4 separate regions of the Homo sapiens genome follow, and all the other regions are linked to region 1. Evidence: promoter capture Hi-C in human tissues and cell types (Jung and others, 2019). All regions are on one chromosome and are shown on one strand. Each heading gives the region's core, a stretch centred on a gene start or on the middle of the fragment in contact. The rest is flanking DNA. Distances are from core to core; before and after follow the strand shown.

Region 1 (2,842 bases), core at 138-2,637:
AATTCTAAGAAACGTTTTATTATCTTTTCCCTGAATGGGTACTCGTGTAAAATGAGTTTTCTTAGTAGATTCCTAGAGATCCTTAAGGAAGGTCTCTTCCTGAAGAATCCAGGTGTGTAAACCACATATTGCCAGAAGGGGGCGCGCGCCACCCACCATTAAACTTCACTCCTGGTCCTCAGAGGACTTTGAGCTGCTTCAAGGGCGGCCCCTCAGCTGAATAGGGGAAGAGGGGAGGTTGATCTTTCCTGGGTAGGAACGTTCGGGGTTAGAGATGCCTCCCCCTAGTGGAAGATTTGGATGGCTCCAAAGAGCAGGGCAGGACCAAAGCTGCCCCAGGCTGCCGGGGAGGCCTGTGAGTGCCGACTGCTCCTCAGGCGTCCGCTCCAAATCCTCTCTTCCTCTCCACCTGAAATTCCCCTTTAGAGTCACTATTTTGGCTTAGAGGACAAAATCACACGTGTTGCTTCTAGAGGACTCCTGTTAGCACACCTAAGTTACCTGAGAAGCGATTCAGGGACCCTCAACATGGCTGCACATGAAAGTCACCAGGAGCTTTAAAAACTGGGGCCCAAGCTGCGTCCCAAACCAAGCAAATCAGAATCCTTGGGGATGGGACCCACGCATTAGCGTTCAACACCTCTCTGGGGGCTTCTGGTGTGCAGCCCGGGCTGTGCGCCCTGGGGTAGGAGCTTGCTGATGCCCTCCCGTGAGTCCAGGTGGTGAGCTGATCTAGTTAGTGAGTTCACCTGGGAGGGCATCGGCTACGATGATGTTTAAACTTTAGTGCATATAAAGCTCACCTGGCAGGGGGAGCGGGGAGAGTTTTCTGGTGCCCTAGCTTTCCTCGTGCCCAGAGGCCACTTCCGGAAGCCCGCAGTCTTGATGAGATGGAAGCAGAGAGAGAGAACGAGAAGGATCCAGCGAGAACCCCGCCTGCTCCGTAAGACGATCAGAGGTCATGAATAATGGAGAGAAACGGGGGCCTTTGAGTCCTGGGAGCCTGGCTGATTCCGGGGCCCCGCCTTCCTCAGGAGGGTCCCGTGTGGGCTGTAAGGCTTGGGAGATCTCCTGGGTGAGGAGCCCTCACCTGTCCCTGGGGTGGCCTGGAGGGATCCCAGGTGACCCCCTGGCTGTGAGGCCAGGTGGGAAATGGACTTCAAGGGCTCCGTGTCACCTGATTCTCCATAGGGAGGAGAGAGGGCTGGTGGGGAGGGGAGAGAGGAAGGAAGTCAGCCTGCCCTCAGCGCCATGAATAAGTGATGAGGCCCAAAGAGAAGCCCCGGGGCAGGTACAGAGGAGGAGGAGGTGGCTCACCAGAGGGTGGTGGGAGGGGACAGGGACAGGAGGTTCAGAGATAAGGCACTGAGGTTCAGCTCAGGAGCCAGAGAAGGCAGAGGGAACAGCACCTTGGGCACGGGGAAGCCAAGAAAACGGGGCACTCTGGCCCACCCAGGCCTGAGCTATAGGAGGGCCGTGGGCGCCAGAGCTCAGGGAGGAGGTCTCAGGTTCCCGCAGGTGTGAGGAGGCGGCACAGTGAGCCTGCGAGCGCTGGGAGAAGGCAGCCGACAGAATGATGCCCCAGAAGAAAAGGCGGAGGAAGAAGGACATCGACTTCCTGGCCCTGTACGAAGCGGAGCTGCTGAACTACGCCTCGGAGGACGACGAGGGGGAGCTGGAACACGAGTACTACAAGGCCAGAGGTGCGGGGTCCCAGCCTGCGGGGGGCGGGTGGTGCAGCTGGCTGCGGTGGGCAGGGGTCTGTTCCTGTCTATGGGGAGTCATTCTAAGATTTCGGAGCAAGCCCTTCCTCACTGATTATCCCATGTGTCTGTTCCATATCCCCTCGGAGTAAGAAGGCAGGCATTATGCAGGGATGGTGGGGTCCCTGTTGTACAGACAGGTGGAGCAACTTGCCTTTAGCCCCCGATTCTCAGTGGAACAGAATAGACTAGAGCCACAGTGCCCCCATGGCCCCATGTTCTCCAGCTCCTGAACATCCCCAAAGCCACGTTCCAGTCTGGTCCCCGAGTAGGTGGTCTGCATCAGGCAGAGCGCCCTGAACTGCTGGGGTCATGAAAGGATGTCTTGGGGAGGAAGCCTGACAGCTCATCCTATGCCCACTGTGGTTGATGGAGACAGGGAGCCTGGGGCTTTGCAAGGAGATGTCCATCCCATATGTCGAAGGCGGCCGGTGCTCTGGACCCCAGGGCCTTGTCCTTCTAGTCTCATCTTTCCCTGGGCCACATGAGACCTGCTTGAAATTGCTCTAACTCCTTGCCAGGTAAACCAAAGAAGTGAACTGTGACCCTAGAGCTGGTTTTGGCCAGCAGAGTTTAAGTTGTTTTTTTCCTTTCCAGCGTTTTGAAATCCTTTTTTCTGTGAATGCCAATAGGCTGTGGACGTCCAGCTTATCACAGTCTCCACCACTCCCTGTCATCTCATACTAGGTCTGGTTTACTCATCAGTGCTGCCTGCCTAGTCTCTGAAGCCATTTAAATTCTCAATGCTGACTCCAAAGTGGCTCACCAGTCCCCGTAAGCGCCATAGTCATCCATGCATTCACTCATTCATTCATTCAGCAAGTATTTATTGAATGTGTGCTCTGTGCCTGCCCATGGCCTTGTTTGTCTTCCCCTTTCTCCCTCTTCCTGTCCTCACTCTGAAAGCCCAGTTCTGATCCCATCTCTTCCATGAAGCCCTCCTTGATTCCAGTCCACCATGAGTTCCCTGATTACATCCAATTCATAATTGTTCCATTGTTTCCTGCAAAGCTTGTCCAGCTGTGTCCGGCTTGCAGCCACAGTCACCCTAAACTCCGTGAGGGTGGGGCCTTGCTGTA
Region 2 (2,700 bases), core at 183-2,682, 440 kb after region 1:
ACCTCATCATGCTGAATTTGAGTCTAGTGTTTAAATAGATGTTTTATCCACAATGGTCACTAAATACAGAACCCAGAAAGCCTAGTATATTCTATGAATGAATAAAGGGATTTAAGAGAAAATACTCTACACCCATTGTACACTTTGTATGCTAAATTTAGAACCTAACACTCTACCACCACTGTGAGTGATACAACTCCAATTAACCATACAGGTACAGGACATAATATTTAACCTCAAAAGCTTATGACCTATATACAGTTAAGTCCTTACTTAACATTGTCAACAGGTTCTTGGAAACTGAGACTTTAAGTGAAATGACATTTAACAAAACCAATTTTTCTCATTAACCTTATAACTAAAGGACATCATTCAAAGACCAGCAGTATCTTGTTCCATTTAAAGTCGCAGTTTCCAAGAACCTATTGAAAATCTGGTGGTTTTTAAAGAGGATGCTAAATATGGAAAACAAGTAAATACCTTGCCCTGTATGTGTTACATTACAGAAAGCAACTATCATGTCCATAGGTCACAGACACACATAACCATTATTCTATACGGTATGCTAGGTGCAATATGGCATCTCCATCATCTCACTCCATCAAGTTACCTAGATAGTTCAATCTATAGCAGACAAAAACTAGGAAATATTTGCAAAATCCTTTAAAACAGATCTAACATGCCAAGCCCACTTTTTGCTTAATACAAACATAAATATTCTATATGCCTGTTGTTTTTCATAGCCCTGTTCTCAGCTGTTGATAAAACAGGCATTCTGATTAAGTTTCCTTAACACATTCATGGAAACCAGAACATTCATGGCCACTGAAACATCTGTTAATTTAAAACAATCCTAGGCCAGGAGTGGTGGCTCACACCTGTTATCCCAGCACTTTAGGAGGTGGAGGCAAGTGGATCACCTGAGGTTGGAAGTTCGAGACCAGTCTGGCCAACATGGTGAAACCCCGTCTCTACTAAAAATACAAAAATTGGCCAGGCATGGTGGCGAGCGCCTGTAGTCCCAGCTACTCGGGAGGCTGAGGCAAAAGAACTGCTTGAACCTGGGAGGCGGAGGTTGCAGTGAGCCAAGATCACGCCACTGCGTTCCAGCCTGGGTGACAGAGCAAGACTCCATCTCAAAAAAATAAATAAAATAAATAAAAAATAAATAAAACAATCTTGTGTGTAGCCTACTTCACAAGCATATTTGTATCAATTATAATACTAATGTTGGAGGCTAAGTGAAAATCAGCATAAATATTTTTTCTGACACCATTACAAAAAAATGTAACACCTCTGAAAGCCAACAGAGGGAGTAACAGTTAAACCAACGGAGACCGTTATAAATAAAGCATGCTGTCAATACAAACACGAAATAAAATATTCACAGATACAAAATACCCCCAGGTATGAGGAATAAACCCAAGTTCTTTTTTTTAAGCCAGTCAAATTTAGCAGTGGGGGGGACAAAGATTTTCTAACTGAATAAAAATGAGAGTTAATTCTATTATGGAGATTCAAATTGTATATTCTGGAATAATGATTCTTCTTAAGGCTGGGCACGGTGGCTCACGTTTGTATTCCCAGCACTTTGGGAGGCCGAGGCAGGTGGATCACGAGATCAGGAGTTCAAGACCAGCCTGGCCGAGATGGTCAAAGCCCATCTCTACTAAAAATACAAAAATTAGCCAGGCGTGGTGGCAGGCACCTGTAATCTCAGCTACTTAGGAGGCTGAAGCAGGAGAATCACTTGAACCCGGGAGGTGGAGCTTGCAGTGAGCCGAGGTCCCGCCACTGCACTCCAGCCTGGGCGACAGAGTGAGACTTAGTCTCCAAAAAAAAAAAAAAAAAAAAAAAAAAAATTCTTCTTAAAGCTAAAATATCTGAGAAAATATACTCAGATGGAATTAATGTCAGCTATATAGGACAAGCATCAAAAGTCTCAATTTGTGAAAGAAGGCAGCACTGGATATTTTCAAAGTACATAATACAGCATCAGACTAAAAAGTAAATTTGTTAAAATGACCATACAACGCTTGTTTCTTCAAGAAATAAGTTGTGTGGATAAAACAGGTAAATCTAGATTGTTTTTCCCTGTTAAAAAAAAATGACAATATGGCACATCATTCAATTTAATGATTATCTTTCAAGTTCCTTAAATTTGAGTGTTAACTGAGATTTAATTTATACTACCTAAATTAGTAACCGGTATTGCAGTCAAAACCACTTAAATATGCTCAAATCAATCACAAAAGACTAGTATTGACCACAAACAGGACAAAAGTTAGCTCATCATGGTATGTTCATACAATGTGGCCATTAAAAAAATGAGAAAGCACTTTATATAGAGAGGTAAGAAACAGTTCTCACGCAATTTTAATGAAAAAAGATACATTATAGCATTTATGTAAATAAATAACAAAACTATATTTACATGAGTTTATCTGTAGATGCATAGACTCTGGAAAGATACTTAAGAAAATAGTAATACCAGTTGAGAAGGAAAGCAGGTGAATAAGGGAACAGGAGAAGACAGTGTGGTATGCAGTTTTGTATCTCTTGAATTTGTGATGTATACAAACATTATCTATTCAAAAATCCACTCTGACATAAAAGTCTTCTGAAGAAAAAGAAGTTGTGCTTTTCTGGGGCCATAACACTAGACTACTCTTTGGGTCAAGCTTAGTCAATAAATTCTAC
Region 3 (2,700 bases), core at 15-2,514, 270 kb after region 1:
TCCAGAGCTACACCCAGGTGGTGCCGGGAAGCACAGGGACTTCCACATTTTGCACAGCCTGGAGGGGAATTTGGCACTAAAGTTGGGACAAGTTTCTCCCCTAGTCCTGGAATATTGCAAGTTCTGTACACATTTCTTGTCCTCAGAGCTAATGCTGTTTTTGTACTGGATTCACTCCCAAAGGCCTGCACTGTCCAAAGGAAAAGCTGCTTTCCTTACTTCAGAGTGGTTCCCCAAGCTCTGCACTGGAATCATGGAGGATGGGGGCTTGTTTCAATGCAGATCCCCAACCCCCTCACCCACTTGCTGAATGGGACTCTCTGGAGGTGGGGCCTGGTTATCTGCCTTTTTTTATGCATGCCTCAGCTGGACGTTGAAGTTTGAGAACAAGCCATGAAGAAACTTGTCTGCTAAGCTGGACAGACTGTAGCCCTCTGTTGACAAGCTATGTCAGAGTGTCACTGCTGTGAGACCACCAAAAATCACTGCTTCCCTGGCCTGGCGCACTCTCCTCAGCCTCTTTACCCAGCCTGTCTACTGCCCCTCAGAACTGTGTGAGGAATGAATTAGAAGAGAATGTTGGCCAAGTGCCTGGTTCAGCAGCGGCACGCAGCAGTGCCCAGGAATGTCAGTGTCCCCCGCCAAAAGGAGTAGCTGCTCCTCCGCCACCCAAACACTGCCCATGATGCCAAAGGTACTAGAAATCAGAAAGTGGGGGACTCCCAAAATGGCCTAAATCCTGTCTGCTGTGGGAAGAAGGAAGGAGGAAGTGATGAGAAGTGAAAACAAAATGTTCCTCTGAGAGCCGCATGTCCAGCTCCCCAGTTCTTCCTACCTATAAAGACAGCACCATGTCCCAGAAAGAGAATCTCCACTGAAAGGACAGCTGCCAGGGACAGGGAAAAGATCCTGTTTTGTTCACTACTCTATAGCTATCTACATGGTTGGAATGAAATGAGCACTTAATAATTATCTGCCGGATGGAATGATGGATGGATGGGTGGATGGGTGGGTGAATGGATGGATGGATGGATGGATTGATGGGGGGTCAAGACATAAGATAGCTTAGCAAAAGACCTGGATTCTAGTTCTGGCCCCAGTCCTTACCAGGCCTTAGGGAAAAAAAAATTGATATTAACCCCTCTGCCTCTGCTTCCTATAAAACAATGAAGTTTACACCTGCCCCAGCTCCACCATAAGGGGAGCTTGTGTCTCAAATGAAATGACTATATATTTGATGGTACCTGGTAAGCCATCAGATTTGTACAAATGTCAGAGATGAAGGCAACGATGACAATGCTGATGATTAAAGAGTAGAAGGGTGTCGGACAGTCTACAGATCTTTGTATGTGCAGAGAAGGCTTTCATTCAGCTCCCTCGCCAGTGTAAGAAATGAGGCAGCCAGAGGAAGAGAAACCCTGGCATGTAGGTAGCTAACAGCATTTCCCTGAGAACATGGCCCCTGGACAGATGGGCCTTGGCATTTGCTTCTAAGGCCTCACAAAACTGAGGGTGAACCCCAATACTTTATTTTTGGCAAAACAGCTGAGAAAGAGGCCCAGATGGTTGGAAGCAACTCCCTTCCGGAGACAAGGGGTTCTTGGGGCCAGAGCATCAGAACCACCACACACCGCCATGAGGTCATCTAGCCCCATCCCCTTATTTTATGAAGACAGCATTACAGTCTTCTTGGCATGTATTAGTAAAAGCAACTCTTCCAGCCCCAGATACCTCACCAGGCTCAGCTGAAACACTTATCACTTACAGAGGGGGCAAAAATCTCTTTTCCAATATAAAGGCAAACACTGATTTTTTAATTAACTGCCTCGAGGGGGTCCTGCCAAAAGTGCAGGCTTGGAGCAAGAGGCTGGGGAGGGGCACAGAAGCTCTGGGAAGAGCTGGTGAGGGCTCAGTTCATGCTCCAAAGGGGGACAGCTGACACTTCTAGATCAGGGGCTGTGGGGCTTGTATTAAGATTTTCTGTCTGTGCATTTCAAAGTAAGTTTTGTTCCTGCTTCTACCTATCAGCAGACAGGAGCAGAATCTGGGGGATTTGGAGCTCCAGAGCCTGTTCTCTGTCCACTAGAGTCAGTAGAGCCACGCTAGAAAAGCTCCTGGGTTTCAACCTGGACATCCTTGTGCAACACCTTCCTCTTCAGAATCCCTCCCTGCACACATATGCACACGCACACTCACACACACATGCACAGGCACATGCAAGTCCTTCCTTCCAGACAAAACAATCTGTTATCAGTCATTTACACCCACTTGTCCTCACAAGCCACCACTTTCATCTCCCAGGAGAGCTCTCATCTCTGTGCAATTAGATTTGAGGCCCAGGAAGCAACCCTGTAATTGGTGAGGCAGGACAAGATTCCCCTGGCCCATGACATCACACCACCCAACCAAACATATTCTCTAACCCAACAGACAAGAGCTGGCACCAGTGTGGTAAGCAGGATCTCTGAGAATATACGCCAGAGTTGGCTGGACCATCTCCCATGGAGATGTCAAAAGGTTTGCCAACTGAAAGGGAGCCCTGCACACCACTCTGGAAATCTTTGAGGGGGAGGGAACAGAGATACTGTCTACGGGCACAAAGGTGACCATCAAGAAGTGAGTGGAGCTGAACCAGCTGTGTGTGTGCCCTGGCTCTGGGCTGTATCTACCAGGGAAAAGGCAGGACATTTTCTTATTCTA
Region 4 (2,700 bases), core at 79-2,578, 350 kb after region 1:
ACATTCTCTGAGCAGCCCAGCTCCAGAGCTCTAGCTTTGGGGAAAACAGGAGGTAATTTAGAAGAGCAAGGCTGGAAAATGGGTGGAGAAAGGAGGAAACCACTAGAAATGGAAATGCAAATCCCATCATTTCCCATCATTGCTAACTTTTCCTGCAGCCTTGGCACCAGGCATGGCCCAGGTTGAAATACGGGAGAAAACGGAATTTCCCTTTGGATGCCTTCTCTCTTTTCCTGTCTTTCCCTTCCAGGGACCTTCTGCCTCCATCAGGGAATCCATACAGGGGCCCCAGGTGCTTCTATCTCAGGGATTTTCATATTAAAAGATACTGCAGGATATGACAGATCTTATCTGCATCCATGAAGGAATTTTGGACCTTAGTTCAAAAGTGTGATGAGCATGATGAGTATGATGGGGAAAGGGGAGGGAGGAACACTGTGTAATACCCAAAATTCCACCCTAAATTTGAGGCATCGTTTCCGGCATTGCCTCCTGCCCCCATCCCCGGGGAGAGGAAGTGCTGTAATCAGGTCTAGGCATAAGCCAGTTTATTAGATCCTCTTAAAAGTAATAATAGGGGAGGTGGCCAGGCACAATGGCTCACGCCTGTAATCCCAACACTTTGGGAGGCCAAGGCAGTTAGATTGCTTGAGTTCAGGAGTTCGAGACCAGCCTAGCCAACATGGCAAAACCCTATCTCTACCAAAAATACAAAAATTAGCTGGGCATGGTGGCAAGCACCTGTAGTCCCAGTTATTTAGGAGGCTGAGGCGGGAGGATTGCTTGAGCCCAGGAGGCAGAGGTTGCAGTGGGCTGAGATTTTGCTACTGCACTCCAGCCTGGGTGACAGAGATCCTGTCTCAAAAAAAAAAAAAAAAAGAAAAAAGAAAGAAAGAAAGGGGAGGTTACAGGCCTCTGACTTCACCACCTTCCGCTGCTCCTTCCCCTGACCCCTGCTTTCATTTGGCTCCTGGGCAGACCTGCGGACCTACTTCCCACAGCTTCTCCAGTCCTGGGCCAGAGCCTGGCCAGATGCCCCTAAAACATAGTGGATTAGGCTCTTTCTCTGCCACACAAGAGCAATCCTCAGATCCTCAGCTGCTTAGACAGCTGCCCCCTCCCCACAGCTGGAGCAAGGTGTGAATCTGGGGCTCAGCACTCTGGGAGAGATGCTTGCAGGCCTGGAGCCCTACCTCCTCCCTGGGCAAGGCTGAAACCCGGGCCAGGAGGTGGGAGGTAGCGGGTGACCTCTGTTGCAACTGAATAATGCAATTCCAGAGAGAGTCCCTGGGAGGGACAGAGCATCCAGGGAGGGTGTCTTTAAAGGCCCCCCTGCCCACTGGGTTTGTTTTCCAGGGCTGCCGTAACAAATCACCACAAACTTGATGTTTAAAACAACAAAAAGTTATCCTCTCACAATTCTGGAAGACAGAAGTCCAGAATCAGGATGTCAGCAGGACTGGACTTCCTCCAAAGGATCTAGGAGAGAATCCTTCCCATCTCTTCCAGCTCGTGGTGGCTCCAGGCTTCCTTGGCTTGTGGCCACAGCACTCCAGTGCCTGCCTCCATCTTCCCCTGGCTTCTCTGTGCCCTGGGTTTTCTCTCCTCTTCTGTTTCCATAAAGACACTTGTCATTGGATTTAGGGACCACCTAGGTAATCCAGGATGACTCATCTCAAGATGCTTAATTTAATTACATCTGGAAAGACCCTTTTTTCAGATAAGGTCACATTCACAGGTTCTGAGGGCTAGGACATGTGCATGTCTTCTGGGGGGCCCTCATTCACCCCACTACACTCATCAACTCCCAGAGGCACCTCACACCCTCTCTGCCTTCATTTCCCATAGCTCCTCTGAGGCGGGTCACCTTTCCTCTCATTTTGCTGGGGAGAGGCCTGGTTTATACCTGTGCCTCACTGTAGTTATCAATAATGTCTCTTTTCACTCTCAGAAGTTGAAAGCAAATTCCACGGTGACCCTGTGCAAGGGTCAGACTCCTCCTAGCCACCTTCACAGGCAGTGTCTCACACCATCCTCCCTTTCCGGGAGTGGTAGCAAGGCAAGTCTTGCTCCATTTTGCAGCCGGAGATGCCGAGACTCCCAGGTTAAGGACCTGCTCAAGGTCATGTAGCTGGTGGCAGAGACATGACTGGAGGCTGGAAGGAAGGGCTCCTGACTTGGTGCGCTGTATGAAAGACACTTGCTCTCATGATGAGCACCCTTGAGCCAGCTGATGCCATCAGTCAGGGACCGCTGGAAAGACACCTGCAGCCAACCAGAGCTACATCTATTGATGCAGCTGTGACGGGGGAGACCACACCCCTGGGGAGCTATGGCGCATCCCGGTTGGAGGGTTGTGTTAGAAGGAAGTTGCAGGGTTTGTGTTTCTTTGGTGACTTTGGGAAGGGTTCGGAGAAGTGGGGATTTCCTCTCCACTGGTTGCAGTCAGGGAGCAGGAGAATTCTATGATCGAGGACATTAGAGTATCTTTAGGATTCTGACCTAGAAGCGGAGGAATGAAGCAGTGCTAACGCTGTATTGGGTAAAGAAGCCGTAGCCCCTCCCATCGGCTGGGGGAGGCAGATGTTGGTTTATTTCTGTGGTTCAGCTAGTATTCTTGTTTTTGTCTGTGCTCGTGTGGAGGGGTCTTATTTCTGTCGTGGTCTGTCACGGTCACAAAGCAGCCTTGTTTGACATTGT

Evidence for each region. Contacts are between HindIII fragments. The study calls those that stand out against the background at their distance.
Region 2: a fragment that was not itself captured here is called in contact with the fragment with the promoter of LOXHD1 in region 1 in 1 of the 25 tissues and cell types used here (dorsolateral prefrontal cortex).
Region 3: a contact is called between a fragment that was not itself captured here and the fragment with the promoter of LOXHD1 in region 1, in 2 of the 25 tissues and cell types used here (H1 embryonic stem cells and lymphoblastoid cells).
Region 4: a contact is called between a fragment that was not itself captured here and the fragment with the promoter of LOXHD1 in region 1, in 1 of the 25 tissues and cell types used here (dorsolateral prefrontal cortex).

What each region holds. Positions count from the first base shown.
Region 1 is chr18:46,655,765-46,658,606 of GRCh38, reverse strand. LOXHD1 (lipoxygenase homology PLAT domains 1) reads left to right here and starts at 1,387. Exons shown (of 41, transcript NM_001384474.1): 1 at 1,387-1,703. The coding sequence starts at 1,574. RefSeq lists enhancers at 330-379, 190-1,139. The HindIII fragment of the contact is 5,571 bases long and covers 1-2,842 here.
Region 2 is chr18:46,212,153-46,214,852 of GRCh38, reverse strand. The region is part of intron 1 of ARK2N (arkadia (RNF111) N-terminal like PKA signaling regulator 2N); the gene reads right to left. Among named protein-coding and RNA genes, the nearest start is that of ARK2N, 39 kb to the right of the region's middle. The HindIII fragment of the contact is 5,322 bases long and covers 1-2,700 here.
Region 3 is chr18:46,384,886-46,387,585 of GRCh38, reverse strand. All of the region lies in intron 1 of ARK2C (arkadia (RNF111) C-terminal like ring finger ubiquitin ligase 2C), which reads right to left. Among named protein-coding and RNA genes, the nearest start is that of ARK2C, 52 kb to the right of the region's middle. RefSeq lists an enhancer at 1-421. The HindIII fragment of the contact is 5,640 bases long and covers 1-2,700 here.
Region 4 is chr18:46,302,670-46,305,369 of GRCh38, reverse strand. No RefSeq gene overlaps it. Among named protein-coding and RNA genes, the nearest start is that of ARK2C, 30 kb to the left of the region's middle. The HindIII fragment of the contact is 8,639 bases long and covers 1-2,700 here.